2 separate regions of the Homo sapiens genome follow, and region 2 is linked to region 1. Evidence: promoter capture Hi-C in 16 types of primary human blood cells and fetal thymus (Javierre and others, 2016). All regions are on one chromosome and are shown on one strand. Each heading gives the region's core, a stretch centred on a gene start or on the middle of the fragment in contact. The rest is flanking DNA. Distances are from core to core; before and after follow the strand shown. Region 1 holds the start of USP37 (ubiquitin specific peptidase 37). Region 2 overlaps ZNF142 (zinc finger protein 142).

Region 1 (6,139 bases), core at 2,780-5,279:
ATTTTTAAAATAATCCTAAGTGATAGGGATATTATCTCTATTTCACAGATGAGGAAACTGAGGTTTAGAGACATTACATAATTTATAAATACAGTCAGTGAGAAACAAAGCTATGTCTAATGCCAGAACCTACATTTTTAACTACAACCACAGTTCATCCTCATCAATGAATTATGGCAACCCCTTCCCTTTCCAGTCTCAGCTCTTGGGGTTTTACCTCCAACAAATCCTTTACATTGTAACATCCTTTCTAAAGAACTACTCTTTTTACCACTTTTCAACTGAACTATGCACTAGGTATCTTCTTAACTTTCTCCCTAAGGTGGGAGTGGGGGGTAGAGGTGGGGCACGGGACAGGGAGGTAACACACAGAACTTGGGTACTCTAACTGTATACTCCAACAAAATAACAAACACTTGTTAAGTGCTAAATGGTTGCCATTGATGCTAGGACCTTCCCAAACTAAATAGCTCATCACTACCTAGAAAATAAAATAAATCCAAATGCTTGTGTTTGGTATTCATACACCTCCATTTTAAATTCCCTATTTTTCAACACGAATCCTGTTCTACACATACAAAAATTATTATATTTTAATATTTTCTTTCTTTTTCATTTGAGACAGAACCTCATTCTGTCACCCAGACTGGAACACAGTGGTGCCATCTTGGCTCACTGCAACCTCCACCTCCTAGGCTGAAGCAATCCTCCCACCTCAGCCTCCCAAGTAGCTAGGACTACAGGCACATGCCACCAAACCCGGCTAATTTTTGTAATTTTTTATAGACATGGGGTTTTGCCATGTTGCCCAGGCTGGTATCGAACTCCGGGGCTCAAGCGATCCGCCCACCTTGGTCTCCCGCAATGCTGGGATTACTGGCATGAGCCAATGCAGCTGGCCATATATTAATATTTTCTTTGTCATTCACCAACAACTGACTTAAATATGGAATTTTGCTTTATTTATGGAAATCTCATCTTCACTGGTCTTAAAGATTAACCGGTTGTTAAAATATACAAACCACTACTCTGATTTTTGAAGGCTTTCTTTCCTTTAAAAAGACCTATAAAACAAATGGACAAAGGAGAAAAAATTAGTTTTGTTACTGAAAGTGGAAAGCTGACCTAAAGTTTATCTCCAATTCAAAGAGTTTAAAATCTGAATGGTTTTATGATATAAAAATGGGTAAAAGAATCCAAAGTTGGAAAACGTTTTGTTTTTTCTCATGTGTCCTCTAACTTTTCAGAATGAAAAGTGTTTGTCATGAGATGATGACAAGAACATCAGCAAGCTTTGCTTCCAAAAGACATGATGGTTCTTACAGCAACTTCCAGCTTATTTAACAAATTATTGGGAAATAAAAAAGAAGTGGTCACTAGCCTATATTCTAATAGGAGACAGACTTTAAATAATCACACATGTAAATATATAATTACAAGTTCTGGGCTGGGTGCAGTGGCTCACACCTGTAATCCCAGCACTTTGGGAGGCCGAGGCAGGTGGATCATCTGAGGTCAAGAGTTCAAGACCAGCCTGGCCAACATGGTGAAACCTTGTCTCCATTAGAAATACAAAAATTAGCCGGGCATGGTGGCGGGTGCCTGTAATCCCAGGTACTTGGGAGGCTGAGACAAGAGAATCGCTTGAATTTAGGGGGCGGAGGTTGCAGTGAGCTGAGATCATGCCATTGTACTCCAGCTTAGGCAACAGAGCAAAAACTCCATCTCAAAAAATAATAATAACAATAATTACAAGTTCTGAGAAATGATATAAAGCAAGATACATGGAATGATGAGTCTTAAGATTAAGACTTGGGGTAGAGGATAACATTGAGAAGGCTTCCCTGAGAAGGTATCACTTAAGTTGAAAACTGCAGAAGGAGATGACTGATAGATGGTGGTGCTGGAACAATCCAGGCAAACAGCATCCCCAAAGGCCTTGAATTGTAAAATAACTTGATATGACTAGGGAAATTAAAAGCAATGTGGCTACAGTTTAGTGAAGGAGAGGAGGAAGATGAAGTTAGTGAAGCAGGCAAGAACCAGGTTATGCAGTCTTGTGAACCACAGTAAAGATTCCGAATTTTATCCTAAATGTAACAAGCACTTACCAGGAGGAAATCCACCAAAAGGTTTTAAGCAAAGAAATATGTTACTACTGAATGAGGAAGTCATATATGGTTGGTTTGGGTTTTGGGAGAGTGACTAAGAGCAAGAACAGAAGAAAATAATGTAACCAGATAGAAGAGTATTGAGTTGATCAGCTTATAACAATAACAATTAATGCTTACTGGCCATTTACTCTGTGCCAAGTGCTTATCATGGTTATCTCACTTAATCCTCATAACAATCCAATAGGCTGAAAATTACTATTTCCATTTTACAGATGATAATACAGGAAGCCAAGGCAATCAAGTCCAGGTTTTTTAAGGACTGTGGCTTAAACTAGAAAAGTGACAGTGAAAATGTACAGAAAAAGATGCAAGACACGTATTGGAAGTAGGATAGAACTTGGAGAGAGTAGAAGTCAAGAATGCCTCCCAAGTGTGTAGCCTGTGTCATGTGCCACTTAATAAACTGGGACACTGGAGAAGAAAGAATTTCGATATGGAGAGAAAGATCAAGGCTTTGGATTTGGCTGTGTTGCATCTGAAACTCCTAAGAAAAAAATCAAGTTGAGATGTCAAGCAGACAGCTGGCTATCTAGATGTGGAGCTGAAAACAAAGGGAATAGGCTGGAAATAACAATTTTTAAGTCATCAATATATAGATCAAATTTAAAGCTTAGGGAGGAATATAAGAGTAAAAGAAGAGGACCTAGGACTGAACCCAAATACTCATTTTACTTCATCAAACATCTTTAAGACAAGTGAGTACTTTTATATCACTGGGTTTTTCAGTCCTCCTTCCATTTTACCTTTCAGCAGAATGCAACACTACTGATGACTTTTTTCATGGCTTGCAAGACGCATCCTCCTCTATTGGTTATTAAACAGCAGGAATTCGTCAATGCTCCATCCTAGGTGCCTTTATTTTACAGCACTATACTCTTTTTCGGCAATTTCATCCACATCCATGGCTTCAATTACTATCAATATGGCAGATGACAAACACATACACACACCGCGCACATTTACGTACGCAGCCCAGAACTCTCCTAAGATCTCCAAACCCACTATATCCAACTGCCTACTTGACATTCCCTCTCAGGTATCTCTTCCAGTTAGACACTTGTCAGGAATTGCCACCTCAATAAAGGAATTTATACAGAGCTGAAATTTTGAGAGGAATACCCCAAAACCACTTTAGGACAACTCTTCAGGACACAGGATTTTATCATCAATCATCATTTCCTTTCATGGATCATGACTTAAAATAGTTACATCTAACAACCTGATCTGGCGGCTAGAAATGGGCGCAAGGAAATGCACAACAAAAATACAATTCATGTTTTGCAGTGAGGACTGGTCAAGAGGAAGGTGAAGATGGTCAAGAGAGTGAATGAGTATCATGTCCAAGGCCTGGTGGATGTGCCGTAACGAAAGTCACCTGAAGAGACAGCAGGCCCTGTTAGAAGGTAAGAGGCGAACGACAACAGCCCCAGAGAAAAGGGGCCAGGTTTGAGTTTCGGAGGGAGCGAGTGGCAGTGGAGACCAAGTCAAAGGAGAGGTGGAAGCCGGGGCAGTGCACCCAAAGGTAGTACCTGTGAGGCTGGGGGTGCATCGAGGGGTTGTGGGCGGGCTGAGTAGCAGCAGGGCGAACTCCAGAGGAGTGAACGCCGAGTGGGCGGATCGCACAGAAGGAGGAGGAGGTAGGGAAAACGGCTCAATTGAGAAGCTACCCCGGCCCGCCTTACCTGCGCCGAGGGTCCGGAGCCCCCGGACAGACCCGCGGAAAGCACGGAGCCCGCGAGGAGTGGGAGGAGCCGAGGGTAATGGAAGTAGGGATACCGAACCCAAAGGAGGGAGGCCGCTAGCTACCCCTAGTCAGGGAGAGCGGCTGATGGCGGGAACTGTGACCACACGCAAACACGCACGCACGCACGCACACTCGACGCGACCAGACAGGCGCGTGCGCGTCAGTCGAAAACTCCGCCCCTCACACGCCCTCGCCCCGCCCCGCCAGTACCTAGAGCGGCCTAGCCCGGGCAGCCCCGCCCCTGCCGTGACTGTAGTAGGCACGCGCACTTTCCACCTCACCCGATTTCGACGCCCCCCCACCATTTCCCTCCTACGCAACCCAGTCGGGCATGCGCAATAGTTGTCTTGCCGGGACTGTCCATCTTTTCCCGCCGTTCACTGGCTTTTGGAGGAGGGTCAGAGTTCACGCCGCTCTCTGGAAATAACTGCTCAAAGCCAGAAGTTGCGGGGACTAGTGGTCGCGGACGTCCTTCCGGTCCTAAATCTTAAGGGGCAAAGGACATACTCTGGGACTGTTAACTAGGCCCTGGAGGCGGGAAGAGGATGTGTGGGTGGGGTCAGGGGTGAGAGGTCAGAGGGCCGCGAAGTGGGCGGAGCGAGCCGGAGTCGGATGGCGGCTACGGCGGCTCATTGTTTTCCGCTGCAGGGGTGCTGAAGGGGGGACGCGGGTCGGACGCGTCCGGCTGTGGAAGAGAGCGGCGGCCGCTCACAACATGCACAGCCTGGCGACGGCTGCGGTGAGTGGCTGGGCCCCCAGGCTTGGAACCAGAATCCTTTCTCAGACCCACGTTTCGGCCTTCTCTCCTAATTCCCGGTGTCGGGTCCCTAGTCTGATTTTTTTCTGCCCTCAATCTCCAAGGCCCCGGTTCCCCTCCTCGGCACGCTTTGGTTGTGGTGGAGCCGGCCCCTATTTCCTTGCCGGACGCCTCTCGCGGCCTTCAGCGCGACCCATCGCGTTCTTTGCGGGCGCCGGGGCCTGGTCCCACGCCCGTAGCAGGCCATTCATTGATTTATTGCGCTGACCAACAGTTTCAGGGCGCCAGTTGTGTTCTGGGCGCCGGCGTCGATGAGGGGAATTCCATGGTCAATCTGACGCGGCCCCTGCTCTTAGAACTCACCACGTCGCAGCGGGAAGGAAATGGCTTCTAGTTCAAACCACTTGCTTTATTTATGGAAAACCTGAGGCCCGGAAAAGTGCATAATTTTTGCATCTGACTTAGGTTCTCTGCATTTAAAACTTTTCCTCGACACATCTCGTTTTACCCGCGTGATCTTTTAACAAAAAAGAAAGATAGTGTAATTCAGCTATCCGAAGTAATCCTACTTCTCTTGGCATTTAAATAAAATCTAGACTCCTTGCCATAGCCTGCACGGCCCTGTATGATGTGGTACTTAACCCACGTTTATAATCTCGTTTTATGTCTCTTGCTCCTAAAGCTTCAGCTACTCTGGCCACCTAACCCTCTGCAACGCGCTTATTTTTCTCCAAGATGCACTTTGTGGTCTCTATGCCTGGAGTGAATGTTCTTCTTATCCCTCCTCCTTTACATACACAGCATGAGTGTAATTGGTACCTCTTCCTTGAACTCTCCTTCCTCTCCTTAAACTGTTTATCCAAATCCATCTTTCTTCAGGTCTCTGCCTAAATCGGTCTCAGAGTGGCCTTCCCTGACTATCCTCTTCAAATTAGTTCCGCAGCCTCTAACTTTAGTAGAGTACCCTTTACAGCCCTGATCCCCGTGTAATTATTGTATTCGTTTATTTGTTGTCTGTCTCCTTGAGGGCAGGGACAGGGATCATGTGAGCCCTGTTGACGTGGTTTCCCCGGTGCCAGGACAGTTCCTAGTACAAGATTAAAGACTCAGATACTTTGCTGCATGAAAGAATATTGAAGGGAAGGTGACCACTGAAAGAACATTGCCATGATGGGGAAAGGAGATCATTTGATTTGAGCATACCTGCCTGAAGACCAATTCTGCTTTTTCTGTTTAACCAAAGGGAAATGATTTAAGGAAAGTAATGTACTGAAATTGTATTATCAGGCAAAATGACGTAATTACTAAATAAAGCACCAAAAATTGCCATACGTTTAAGTACAAAAAGTGAAAAATTGAGCCAAGTATGACTAAGCTATAGAAAACTGCTTTTTGAGATTTGATCTCCATTGTCAGTTCCAGTGCTGTTGGTATCTCTGCCTCCTTTCATACTGTTTCTAAGTG
Region 2 (5,796 bases), core at 250-2,749, 70 kb after region 1:
GAAAGAGACTTGACCCCAGGACTGTACTACGACTCTTAAGAGAACACTGCACAGCACTCAAAGTCCCCCACTGGACTGCTTCCTCCTTAGCCCCACTGGTATAAATACATCTCTCTCCAATTTGGCTTCAATATGGTCTGTCATTGTTGGGCAAGAAGGGGAGGTACAAGGGTTGTGGGGACATCTGGGTAGTCAGGTGAGACAAGGAAAAGGTAGAGAAAGAGGTTCCCAGGAGACCTCTTGCATGTGCTACATAGGAAGGACACAGAGTATGGCTTTTAAGAATCAGGGCAAAAGCAGACAAAAGGTTATGTGGTCCCAGCCTTCCTGAAGAGTCTGGCTGGAACCATCCTGGTTTATGTCTGTTGTCCCAGCATAATTATTAATAGTACCCTCTTTAAGTTTTCCCAGTGTGTCTCAGTTTAGATGATCAATTATATAGTAAGGCACTACAGAATTATACTGTGAAGCAGTTATAGAATTCTGAATTGGAGATTTTCCTCTCTAGTCATCTGCCTTTCCATAGTATCCTTGTGCTTTAACACCTTAGTGTAGCTGCTGAGCCAGTCTGAGGATTGATGATGAGCTAAAGTTGCTTCTAGGAGGAGGCTTAGTGGGTAGCAATCCTCCCTCTATAGATACAGGTAGACAAAGGAGCTTGGAAGTAGGGAGCAGGTCAAGGGTCAAGATGGCTCAAGGACAGGGAGAAGGCAGACCTAGGCCTGTTTCAGTATCAATACTGAGTGAAGATGGAAGGGACAAAAGGGAGGCAGAGGTCTGAGAGGGGACAGAGTTGATCAAGATGACAGCCTGGAAATGTTAAGACAGGGATTTGGATGAATCTATAATGTAGTAACCACTTTCTGTTTAACATGCTTTATAGAGCATTAGGCACAACAGCACATGCGGTTAGATACAACTGTTTTTAGAAGATTCTGAAAGAAAATAGGAATTGACACAGTAAGAAGGAAAGAGAAGATGGAGTGGGTAAAATCCAGATCTTATAGCCAGGGACTTTGATGGAGTGATGGTGAAGAAACTGAGAACTTGCAGGTTAAAAACGCAATGTACAGCAATAAGAAATCAACGTTATAGTCCATGTCCCTCTTTTATATGGGTGATAATTTCAAAGTACTATAGCCAGAGTCCCAGGAAGGTTCTAGTCACCCTTGTACCCCAAAAGCCAGTCTTTCCTTAGGCTCTGAGCTCCTCAGGCTAGCGCTGGTCCCAGTCTGCACATCTCAGACCATACCCTCTTCCTATACAGGAGGTGGGGCAGGCTTTCAGCCCTCAGGTCCAGTGTGGGGAGCGGCAGGAGCAGGAGGGCTGGGATCCTCCAGCTGCACATCATGCAGGTGCACTGTGGGGGTGGTGGGGTCTTTGCCCACACCCTGGTTTGGGTCGGCTTGGTCAGGGTGGTGCCTGCGTACGTGCTTGACCACCTGGAACTTTTGCTTGGCCTTGTAGTTGCAGAGGCGGCAAAAGAAGGGGTGGCGGTCGGTGTGGGTGAGGGCATGATGGCGCAGGCCAGCAGCCCAGCGGAAAGCACGGTGGCACACATTGCACACATAGGGTTTGGCCTCACTGTGCTTGCGAAGGTGGGTGCGCAGCAGGAAGCGCGTCTTGAAGGCCTTGCCACACTGCTCACACATGAAAGCCCGTGCTTCTCGATGCCGGGTCTCCTGGTGCACACGCAGTGCATCAGCCCGGTTGGTGCAGTACTCACACTCGGGACACTGGTATGGCTTCAGTCCTACAGGACAGGGAACAAATCACCATTGAAAGGCGGTGGAGCAAGGTTTACTGGGCCATGGAGTTACTGCAATCAGTGGATATAAAGAATGCAAGCAGCAAGTTGACTAATGACCATCTCTTTGGAATGCTCCAGTCCTCCAGTCCTGTCTGACATTTCTTTTTTCTTTTATTTTTCTTTGAGACGGAGTTTCGCTCTTGTTGCCCAGGCTGGAGTGCAATGGTGCAATCTCGGCTCACTACAACCTCCGCCTCCCAGGTTCAAGTGATCCTCCTGCCTCAGTTTCCCAAGTAGCTGGAATAACAGGCATGGGCCACCACACCTGGCTAATTTTGTATTTTTAGTGAAGACAGGGTTTCACCATGTTGGCCAGGCTGGTCTTGAACTCTGGACCTCCAGTGATGTGCCCTCCTTGGCCTCCCAAAGTGCTGGGATTACAGGCATGAGCCACCGCGCCTGGCCCTGTCTGACATTTCTGTGCCTTTCCAACACAGCGTCCTTGTACATCAACAAGAACTCAATGTTGTAGTCCCAGCAATCAATGTTGTGGGTGCCCAATGGATGCTGATGATTAACGGGACCTCTAACCAACTAGCTACCTGACAGTAATGAATACTCAAATATGGAAGGGTTTCCCCATGGGAAATTATAACCCTCTTTTGGTCACAGAGTACTCATGGAATTCGACAATTCATTTAAACACAACGGCTTGTTCAACTCAAAAAGTCAAAGACCCAGCCTGGGCAACAAAGTGAGACCCTGTCTACAAAAAAATTAGGTGGGCGTGGTGGCGTGCACTTGTAGACCCAGCTAATTGGGAGGCTAAGGCAAGAAGATGATGTGCACCCAGGAGTTTGAGATTGTAGTGAGCTATGACTGCACCACTGCACTCCAGCATGGGCAGCAGAGCAAGACCCTGTCACTGAAAAAAAAAAAAAAAAAAAGTAAAAGAAATACTTAGGAGGGGCCGAGCATGGTGGCTCATGCCTGTAATCCCAGCACTTTGGGAGGCCGAGGCGGGCGGATCATGAGGTCAGGAGATTGAGACCATTCTGGCTAACACGGTGAAACCCCCATCTCTACTAAAAATACAAAAACTTAGCCGGGCGTGGTGGCGGGTGCCTGTAGTCCCAGCTACTCGGGAGGCTAAGGCAGGAGAATGGTGTGAACCCGGAAGGCAGAGGCAGAACTTGCAGTGAGCTTAGATTGCGCCACTGCACTCCAGGCTGGGCAACAGAGCGAGACTCTGTCTCAAAAAAAAAAAAAAAAAAAAAAAAAAAAGAAATACTTAGGAGGGAAGAGGTAGAGGTGAAATAAGTGGCATTCATAAAAGCAGAGGGCCTTGAAATGCTCCTAATCAATTCCTCCACATAGGGGGATCAGATGCAATAAGCACAGGCACACGATTGTGTGCTTTCAAGAACCGGGTTTGTGGATTCCATCCACACCCAGGAGAAGAAAAGGACAGACTAGAACAGGAGAATCCTTCACTTTCTCCTTTTTAACTCATGATAGTTCCATCATGTCTGTGTAAGAGCCAAGCAAATCTGCCCTTAGTCATACAAGTTTGAGTTGGGGGTTCTCAAGAGGGGAAAAATGACTGACTTCGTAACACAGTCACCTGGGAAGCTTTTGGAAAGTACATATGCCCAGGCTCTCAGGTTTACCCTTCTGATTCTGACAGGTCTTCAGTGGGTTGGGGAGCCATTCTGGCACATACAACCCCACCCTGCTGTCTACTCCCAATGTGAAATTGATGTTGGCCCTGAATTGGAACAAGGACCAACCTTGGTAAGGTTAGGTTTGCCAGGGAACAAAGGAACCCTTCAGGCCTGTCGAAACCACACAGACTCACCTGTATGCTTGGTCATGTGGTATTTCAGCTGGTTGACCCACTTGCACTTGTAGCCACACTCAGGGCACAGGTACTTCCGTTCCTCCTTGTGGATCCGCATGTGGTACTGGAAGAGGCAAGAGCAAAAAGCAGAAAATATAGTAAGTGCTCAATAAATGTTAGCTGTTATTATCCAGGTTATTCTTGCCCTGTTCTATGCCTTTATCATATGGCAAGCAGACATTATGGAACTTTGTTTTTCTTAATCTTCAGTTTACTTGCTAGGGATTTTTTTTTTTTTTTTTTTAAAGAGACAGGGTCTCACTCTGTTGCCCAGGCTGGAGTGAACTGGTGTGATCACAGCTCTCTGCAGCCTTAACCTCCTGGGCTAAAGCGATCCTCCCACCTCAGCCTCCCAAGTAGCTGGGAATACAGGCATGCGCCACAATGTCCAGCTAATTAAAAAAATTTATTTTTGTAAAGACAGAGTCTCCATATGTTGCCCTGGCTGGTCTCAAACTCCTGGGATCAAGCAATCCTCTGGCCTTGGCCTCCCAAAGTGCTAGGATTACAGGCGTGAGCCACCTCACCTGGCCGATAATTTTTTTTTTTTTTTTTTTTTGAGATGGAGTCTCGCTGTGTCGCCCAGGCTGGAGTGCAGTGGCGCGATCTCGGCTCACTGCAAGTTCTGCCTCCCAGGTTCACGCCATTCACCTGCCTCAGCCTCGAGTAGCTGGGACTACAGGTGCCCGCCACCACACCCGGCTAATTTTTTGTATTTTTAGTAGAGACGGGGTTTCACAGTGTTAGCCAGGATGGTCTCGATCTCCTGACCTCATGATCCGCCCACCTTGGCCTCCCAAAGTGCTGGGATTACAGGCGTGAGCCACCGCACCCAGCCTCAATTTTTTTTTTTAAATGGAGTCTTGCTCTGTCACTCAGGCTGGGGTGCAGTGGCATGATCATAGCTCACTGCAGCCTCAAATTCCTAGGCTCAAGCAATCCTCCCACCTCAGCCTCCTGAGTAGCTGGGACTACAGGTACTTGCCACCATGCCCAGCTGATTAAGAAAAAGTTTTTGTAATGGGATCTCGCTCTGCTGCCGAGTGGTCTTCAACTCTTGGCTTCAAGCAATCCTCCTAACTTGGTATCTCAAAGTGTTAAGATTACAGGCGTGAGCCACATTATGGAACTTTATCTTTACAACAACCCTATGAAGTTGGTATTATCTCATTTTTAACAGATGAAGAATCTGAGGCTTGGTAAAGGAACTTTCCCAAAGTCACAGAGCTAATATCTGGAGGAGTCAGCTATAGAGAACCAAGGCAGTTTAACTCCAGAGCCTGTGCTCCTTCCACTTCCTGCCCCATATCCTCTGACATTACCTTGAGACGAGAGGGATCAGCACAGGCATAGGGGCAGAGGTGACAGTGGTAAGGCTTTTCCCCAGTGTGGATGCGGCTGTGCCAGGTGATCTTCTGTCGGTTCTTGGTGCTGTAAGCACAATCGGTGCACTTGTAGAGACGAGTGCCCCCATGCCCTTTCACATGGTGATCTAGTACCAGCTGATGGCGGCATGTGAAGTCACAAAAGGGGCAGTGTAGCGGGGGCTGGCCAGCATCCCCATCCCCATCTGAGGCTGCCACGGCTGCTGAAGTCTCCTCATGCTGTTCCAGGTAGTGCTTTACCAGGCCCACCCGCTCCCGGGCAGCAAAGTCACAGAGCTGACAGCGGTGGCTGAAATGCTGCTGCCTCCGGTGCTCATCCAGAGCCAGTCGGCTAGGGAAGGCCTCCTGGCAGGCCCCACACTCAAGCCGTGGGTGCTGTTTACGGGTGTGTCCTCGTAAGCTGGCAGGGCTGGGGCACAGCAACCCACAGCGGGAACAGTGCAGGGGGCCCTCAGTGGTCTCTGCAGGAGAGCCAGGGGCAGGCTGTGCAGGCTCGGGGTGTCGGCGCAGAGCATGCTGCTTAAGTGCTGTCTCTGAGCTGAACTGGGCTTCACACTGGGAGCAGGCAAAGGCTGGGGTGCCTTGGTGGCAGCTGTTGACATGACGAGTGATGTCATGGCGAAGGTAGCCACTATAGTCACAAAGTGGACAGAAGTGGGTAGGTGTTTTGTCATGTACCCTTAACCGGTGCAAGCGCAGTTTCGAGTTGGTACCAAACGTCTGGGGGCAAGAGCTGCAGGGGATGCGGCCAATGCCTGTGT

Evidence for each region. The method cuts DNA at HindIII sites, captures the fragments that hold promoters and counts their contacts. A CHiCAGO score of 5 or more calls a contact.
Region 2: a fragment that was not itself captured here is called in contact with the fragment with the promoter of USP37 in region 1 in 1 of 17 cell types (endothelial precursors); the score reaches 7.3 in endothelial precursors.

Annotation. Positions count from the first base shown.
Region 1 is chr2:218,564,322-218,570,460 of GRCh38, forward strand. USP37 (ubiquitin specific peptidase 37) reads right to left here and starts at 4,030. Exons shown (of 26, transcript NM_020935.3): 1 at 3,857-4,030. It overlaps CNOT9 (CCR4-NOT transcription complex subunit 9), which reads left to right and starts at 4,518. Exons shown (of 8, transcript NM_005444.3): 1 at 4,518-4,657. The coding sequence starts at 4,634. RefSeq lists enhancers at 3,873-4,500, 4,501-5,128, 4,923-5,112 and silencers at 3,993-4,062, 4,153-4,212. The HindIII fragment of the contact is 2,574 bases long and covers 2,782-5,355 here.
Region 2 is chr2:218,637,056-218,642,851 of GRCh38, forward strand. It overlaps ZNF142 (zinc finger protein 142), which reads right to left. Exons shown (of 11, transcript NM_001379659.1): 9 at 4,973-5,796; 10 at 3,609-3,714; 11 at 1-1,753. The coding sequence ends at 1,284. It overlaps PLCD4 (phospholipase C delta 4), which reads left to right. Exons shown (of 16, transcript NM_032726.4): 16 at 1-120. Among named protein-coding and RNA genes, the nearest start is that of ZNF142, 20 kb to the right of the region's middle. The HindIII fragment of the contact is 3,761 bases long and covers 1-3,380 here.